Regions from separate parts of the Homo sapiens genome. Here region 1 is linked to region 2. The links are contacts of gene promoters, found by promoter capture Hi-C in human tissues and cell types (Jung and others, 2019). All regions are on one chromosome and are shown on one strand. The core of a region is centred on a gene start or on the middle of the fragment in contact, and the rest is flanking DNA. Distances in the headings are between cores, read along the strand shown. Region 1 overlaps ESCO1 (establishment of sister chromatid cohesion N-acetyltransferase 1). Region 2 holds the start of SNRPD1 (small nuclear ribonucleoprotein D1 polypeptide).

Region 1 (3,966 bases), core at 1,081-3,580, 48 kb before region 2:
GCTGGGATTACAAGAGCGTGCCATTGCACTGGACTAATTCTTTGTATTTTTAGTAAAGATGGGGTTTCACCATGTTGACCAGGTTGGTCTTGAACTCCTGACCTCAGGTGATCCACCTGCCTTGGCCTCCTAAAGTGCTAGGATTACAGGCATGAGCCACCACGCCTCGCCACCTGGCTAATTTTTATATTTTTTGCAGAGAGAGAATTTTACCATGTTGCCCAGGCTGGTCTAGAACTGAGCTCAAGCGATCCTCCTGCCTCGGCCTCCTAAAGTGCTAGGATTACAGGTGTGAGCCACTGCACCCAGGTAGACTCTTTTTTATTTTTATATTTAATTTGAGACAGAGTCTTGCTCTGTCACCGAGGCTGGAGTGCAGTGGCGCCATCTTGGCTCACTGCAACCTCCCACTCCTGGGTTCAAGCGATTCTCCTGCCTCAGCCTCCTGAGTAGACGGGATTACAGGCACCCACCAACATGCCCAGCTAATTTTTATATCTTTTAATAGAGACCGGGTTTTGCCATGTTGGCCAGGCTGGTCTCAAACTCCTGACATCAGGTGATCCACCTGCCTCGGCCTCCCAAAGTGCTAGGATTACAGGCATGAGCCACCGCACCCAATCCATTCCATTTTTTAATGTCTTAAAAGTCTGGGGGGCCACCTGAGGTGGCTCACGCTTGTAATCCCAGCACTCTGGATCACGAGGTCAGGAGTTCAAGACCAGCCTAGCCAACATGGTGAAACCCCATCTCTACTAAAAATACAACAAATAGCCAGGCACGGTGGTGCGTGCCTGTAAACCCAGCTACTAGGGAGGCTGAGGCAGGAGAATCACTTGAACCTGGGAAGCAGAGGTTGCAGTGAGCCAAGATTGTGCCACTGCACTCCAGCCTGGGTGACTCCGTCTTACAAAAAAAAAAAAAAAATTAACAATTAGCTGTGTGTGGTGACGCATGTCTGTTAGTCCCAGCTATTCAGCAGGCTGAGGTGAGAGGATCACTTGAGGCTGGGAGGTTGAGGCTGCAAGTGAGCTGTGATCACACCATTGCACTCTAGCCTGGGTGACAGCATGAGACCCTATCTTAAAAAAAAAAAAATCCTACTGATTATGTTGACTGTAACTACATAAATGTTCCTAGTACTTTGGGTGCCTTAATTTTTTTATATTCACTCATTCAAGTTAGATTTTTAATCAATCAAAATATCTCCTGTTTTCCAATTTATCTTCCTGTAATTTAAAATGTAACTTTAAAATAATAATGTATTCTGCAATATAGATATTCAAAATCATTTTATACATTAAGTTCCATGTTATTATTTTTTTTTTTTTTGAGATGGAGTATCGCTCTTGTTGTCCAGGCTGGAGTGCAATGGCATGATCTCAGCTCACCGAAACCTCCACCTTCCGAGTTCAAGGGATTCTCCTGTTTTAGCCTCCCGAGCAGCTGGGATTATAGGAACGAATCACCACGCCCAGCTAATTTTGTATTTTTAGTAGAGATGGGCTTTCTCGGTGTTGGTCAGGCTGGTCTTGAACTCCCACCCTCAGGTGATCCGCCCATTTCGGCCTCCCAAAGTGCTGGAATTACAGGCGTGAGCCACTGCACCTGGACAAGTTCCATGTTATTTTAACATTTAAATCAACTACTGAAAGGAGGTAGTGATCAAATGACAAATCTAAGAAAGTAACAGATGTGAAATAAAGTATCACAATTTGTTATAAAACTAGAAGTATGAAAACAATTACTGTTACAAGACAAAGTCACTATTTAAGAAGGGGGTTGTAATAACACCAGGAATATTTTTCTGAGACAGAGTCTCGCTCTGTTGCCCAGGCTGGAGTGCAATGGCACCATCTCAGCTCACTGCAACCTCTGCCTGCCAGGTTCATGCGACTCTCCTGCCTCAGATTCCTAAGTAGCTGGGATTACAGGCATCTGCCACCACGCCTGGCTAATTTTTGCATTTTTAGTAGAGACAGGATTTCACCATGCTGGCCAGGCTGGTCTCAAACTCCCGACCTCAGGTGATCCACCCACCTTGGCCTCCCAAAGTGCTGGGATTATAGGCATGAGCCACTGCACCTGGCCTGGGAACATTTTTCATACTAAAATTTATTATGACAAAAAGGCTCTTTGGCAAAAGTGAATGAATTTATTCTTTAAAACCTTGCATAAATACAATGCTGCTATGATTTTGATATGATTTGATTTGTCTCCACCAAAATTTATGGGGAAATTTGATGTCCAATGTGACAGTGTTTGGAGGTGGGGCTTAGTGAGATATGTTTGCGTCTTAGAGGTGAATCCCGCACAAATAGGTTAATGCCCTCAAATGCCCTCCTGCTGGGGTGAGCAGGGTTAAAAAAAAAAAAAAAGAGTCTGGCTTCCTTGGTTTCTCTCTCTTGCTTCCTCCCTTACCACGTGGTCTCTCTGCACATGAGCTCACTCCCTTTCTGCTTTCCTCCATAAGTTGAAGCAATCTGCCACCCTCACCAGATGCAGATGTCAGGCCATAGAACCACAAGCCAAATAAACCTCTTTTCTATAAAAATTACCAACCTCAGATATCGTATTATAGCAACATGAAATATACTAAGATGGTTCTAACAACAATTCACCAAAATGGTCAAGTTGTGTACTTACTATAATCAACTGTTTTTCATCAGTTTTCTCTGCTTCTTTTAGTTTCAAGTCCTTTGGAATTGTTATCTCCAAATGGGAATTACACTTAGGCAAAGAATGATTTCGTGGTGTCTCCCTTAAAAAAAATAAAATTACTAAATGTTACAGATCCAAGTCATTTCACATCATTTGAAGGGGAAAAAATAACTTATTTTCTTTTTTTTTTTGAGACGAAGTCTCACTCTGTCGCCCAGGCTGGAGTGCAGTGGCGCAATCTTGGCTCACTGCAAACTTTGCCTCCTGGGTTCATGCCATTCTCCTGCCTCAGCCTCCTGAGTAGCTGGGACTACAGGTGCCAGCCACCACGCCCAGCTAATTTTTTTTTTTTGTATTTTTAGTAGAGACGGGGTTTCACCATGTTAGCCAGGATGGTCTCGATCTCCTGACCTCGTGATCCGCCTGCCTCAGCCTCCCAAAGTGCTGGGATTACAGGCGTGAGCCACCGCGCCCGGCAAAAATAACTTATTTTCTACACAACGCTGATAAATTTCAGCTTCAAGAGAGGGAGAAAAACCTTTTAAAAATCAAGGAGCAGGCCTGGCATGGTGGCTCATGCCTATAAAATCCCAGCACTTTGAGAGGCCAAGGCAGGCAGATTGCCTGAGCTCAGGAGATCGCGACCAGCCTGGGCAACACGGTGAAACCCCGTTTCTACTAAAATAAAAATAAATAAATAAAATAAAAATTAGCCAGGTGTGGCAGCGTGTGCCTGTAGTCCTAGCTACTCAGGAGGCTGAGGCAGGAGAATTGCTTGAACCTGGGAGGCGGAGGTTGCGGTGAGCCGAAATCACGCCACTGCACTCCAGCCTGGCGACAGAGCGAGACTCCGTCTCAAAAAATAATAATAATAAAAATAAAGGGGGAAAGAAAATTACTAATTTTCAGTAAAAAAACAAAAACTAATTTTCAGTAAAAAAACAAAAACTAATTTTCAGTAAAAAAAAGGCAACACTTACCACAGTTTGAATATGCTTTTAAGTTTTATAGTTTTAGCTATCTAAGTCATTCCAATTTGTACTAAATACTGTTTGTTGTTAATCCAAAAGGCAAAATAAGTCAGATCTATTTAATTCTGACATTAAAAAGAAAACAAAAAGCTTTTAATCTTACTTAAACACTCTTACATGTTGCTAATACCTAGTATTTCTAGAAGTCTAGGGAAAAGGGCATTCTCAAACACTATTGAGACAGGCCAACCACTTTGGAGGAAAGTCTGACAATGCGGGATAAGTTCTATAGCTATGAGATACAGACACACAAGTAAGCAAAGATACATGTGTT
Region 2 (3,474 bases), core at 298-2,797:
CAATAATGCCGGGCGCGGTGGCTCACGCCTATAATCCCAGCACTTTGGGAGGCCGAGGCGGGCGGATCACGAGGTCAGGAGATCGAAACCATCCTGGCTAACCCCGTCTCTACTAAAAATACAAAAAAATTAGCCGGGCGTGGTGGCTGGCGCCTGTAGTCCCAGCTACTTGGGAGGCCGAGGCAGGAGAATAGCGTGAACCCGGAAGGCGGAGCTTGCAGTGAGCCGAGATCGCGCCACTGCACTACAGCCTGGGCGACAGAGGGAGACTCTGTCTCAAAATACATACATACGTACGTACATACATACATACATAAAAAGACGATAATTAGCGGGCCATGGTGATGCGCGCCTGTAATCTCAGTTACTGGAGAGGCTGAGGCACGAGAATGGCTTGAAACCGGGAGGCAAGGGTTGCAGTGAGCTGAGATCGCGCTACTGCACTCCGGCCTGGGCGACAGAGTGAGACTCCATCTCAAAAAAATAAAAAATATATATATTTTGATGAGATGTTGAGAAAGATGAAGACTGAAAAGTTTGTCTTATAGATTGGAACTTAAAGTGAAAATAATCTGCTACATTGTGGATTTTATTTTTATTATTATTATTTTTTGAGACGGAGTCTCGCTCTGTTGCCAGGCTGGAGTGCAGTGGCACGATCTCAGCTCACTGCAACCTCCACCTCCTGGGTTCAAGCGATTCTCCTGCCTCAGCCTCCCGAATAGCTGGGACTACAGGCGCGCATCACCACGCCCCGCTAATTTTTGTATTTTTAGTAGAGGCGGGGTTTCACCATGTTGGCCAGAATGGTCTCGATCTCTTGACCTCGCTATCTGCCCGCCTCGGCCTCCCAAAGTGCTGGAATTACAGGCTTGAGCCACAGCGCCTGGCCCATTGTGTGATTTGCTTCAGGTACAGTAAGCAATGCTAGGTTCCTGGTGTTGGAACAGAATCAGCATAAGACTTTGGGCTTCTCTAAGACCTTCTTTCCGTTCAGTGAGGAATTTGTATTAGGTGCTGCACTCACAGTGCCCTGCTGTTCAGAAACGTGATGGTGACAGTACTTTTTTTTTTTTTTTTTTTTTTTGGGAGACGGAGTTTCGTTCTTGTTGCCCAGGCAGGAGTGTAGTGGTGCGATCTCCGCTCACTGCAGCCTCCGCCTCCCGGGTTCAAGCGATTCCCCTGCCTCAGCCTTCCGAGTAGCTGGGATTACATGCGCCCGCCACCACGCCCAGCTAATTTTTTGTCTTTTTAGTAGAGACGGGGGTTTCACCCTGTTGGCCAGGCTGGTCTTGAACTCCTGACCTCAGGTGATACCCCCGCTTCGGCCTCCCAAAATGCGACAGTCCTATTAATTGGATTTAATCTCTTCGAATCTCCCTCTCTTGTAGGACATTTTTCTCCAAGACCAGCCCTCGATACCCTCAGCCGTCGCAAGGCAACCTCCAGCCGCCAGGGGCCGCAGTCGCGCTCCTCGCGGCCGGAAGAGAGTGCGGCCCAGCGCAGCCTCGGCGTTTCCGCCATGCGCCTGCAGTGCTCCGCGCGCTCTTGACGTCCGGAGCCCCTGGAGTAGGCGCTTCCGGCCATTCATACTGCAGTCGGTCAGTGTTCGGTTGAAGGATTCTGTGTGCTGTCGGACCCAGAGGGTGACGGCGCCGCTAGGATGAAGCTCGTGAGGTGAGGGAGTGACCAAGCAGCTCTGGGGGCTGTGAAGGGAGGGCTTGGCCCGGAGTCCGGAAGGCTGGGCTCTCCCATTTGCAGGAGGCGGGAAAGCCGCGTGTGCGCGGCCTGCTAACGGCCGGCCTTACTGCGCCCGCAGCTCGTGCTCGGGCCTGGGCTTCCGCCTGGGTCGCTCGCGGATCCCGCGTGTCTTCCAAGAGATTGGTATAAAGGCCGAGCCTTTTCTTCCTGCCTAGTGACTTAGAGGCTTTAAAGATGCAGCGCCTCCTGGGACACATCTCCCTCTTACAGTTACTCATTTTCTTTTTGAGTGGAACTCCCCAGTCCTGCTTAACAGTACTTAGAAAGCTGTATGAGCTTATCTGGAAACAAACCTGTTTGCAAAATATTTTAAATCAGAGAAGGACTTCCGGCTTCACAAGTTTTTGTTTTTTTAAATAAAGATGGTGTCTCACTTTGTTGACCAGGCTGGTCTCGAACTCCTGGGCTCAAGCTTTCTGCCCGCCTCGCCCTTCCAAAGGGCTGAGATTACAGGTTTGAGCCACCGTGCCCGGCCGATTTTTAAGTTTACCTTTTTATCCTCCTTAGATTTGTGATTGATTATTCCACCTCTATTTCCCTTTAAGGTAGGCTTTTTATTTAGGAAAATCTCCCAATATAGGGCAGAAATTATCACAACGTAATTGTGGCTGATTACTCAGATAATATATAGTTCTCCTGTTTTATTTCTTAAGAAATAAATAGACCCTGTCAGTTAGGTGAGTCTTCTGAAAACTTGTTTGCTGATGTGAATAATTCTAAACTACCTGCAAGTAGATTTGGTTTTGGTGTTTTTCCTTGAGACTAAGCCTGGAACAGAGGCAGACGTTTCTAATAGCTAAGCCAGCAATTATAAATATTTAGCTTGTTTTTTTCCTGTTGAGTCAAGGATTGTCAATATCCGCTAAATAGTTATTGGGCACCTGTTACATACTAGGCGCTGGTAATAGGATTTTTTAAAAGGCAGAGTACCTGCCTTGTTGGAGTTTTCTGGTTAGTGGGGATGACAGACAAGTAGATAACGTCTGAAGTAACGTTTGTTTGAAACGTTTTAAATAACACATAAAAGCCTTCAACACTCAGGGAGGAGGCCAGGCGCAGTGGCTCACGTCTGTAATCCCAGCACTTTGGGAGGCCAAGGCGGGTGGATCACTAGGTCAGGAGTTCGAGACCAGCCTGACCAACATGGTGAAACCCCGTCTCTACGAAAATTACAAAAGTTAGTGGGGCGTGGTGGCGCGCGCCTTTAATCCCAGCTACTCAGGAGGCTGAGGCAGGAGAATCGCTTGAACCCAGGCGGCAGAGGTTGCAGTGAGCCGATATCGTGGCACTACGCTCCAGCCTGGGCGACAGAGCGAGACTCCATCTCAAAAAAAAAAAAAAAAAAAAAAAATTATATTCAGGGAGGAGTTGGTACAAAAGACATTTAAGGTTAATTTTTGGTATATTTTTATTTGAACTATAACTTTGGATAGGAAGTCATAGAATTTAAAGTGCATTTTTTAGGCTGGACGTGGTGGCTCACGCCTGTAATCCCAACACTTTGGGAGGCTGAGGCAGGCGGATCGCCTGAGGTCAGGAGTTCAGGACCTGCCTGGCCAACGTGGTGAAACCCATTCTTTCGAAAAAATACAAAAATTAGCCGGGCATGGTGGCGGGCGCCTGTAATCCCAGCTACTCAGGAGGCTGAGGTAAGAGGATCACTTGATCCTGGGAGGTTGCAGTGAGCTGAGATCGCACCACTGCACTCCAGCC

What was found. Contacts are between HindIII fragments. The study calls those that stand out against the background at their distance.
Region 1: a fragment that was not itself captured here is called in contact with the fragment with the promoter of SNRPD1 in region 2 in 1 of the 25 tissues and cell types used here (dorsolateral prefrontal cortex).

What each region holds. Positions count from the first base shown.
Region 1 is chr18:21,561,557-21,565,522 of GRCh38, forward strand. It overlaps ESCO1 (establishment of sister chromatid cohesion N-acetyltransferase 1), which reads right to left. Exons shown (of 12, transcript NM_052911.3): 7 at 2,647-2,761. Among named protein-coding and RNA genes, the nearest start is that of ESCO1, 37 kb to the right of the region's middle. The HindIII fragment of the contact is 5,082 bases long and covers 1-3,966 here.
Region 2 is chr18:21,610,767-21,614,240 of GRCh38, forward strand. It overlaps SNRPD1 (small nuclear ribonucleoprotein D1 polypeptide), which reads left to right and starts at 1,548. Exons shown (of 4, transcript NM_006938.4): 1 at 1,548-1,677. The coding sequence starts at 1,664. RefSeq lists a silencer at 1,297-1,346 and an enhancer at 1,607-1,696. The HindIII fragment of the contact is 13,798 bases long and covers 1-3,474 here.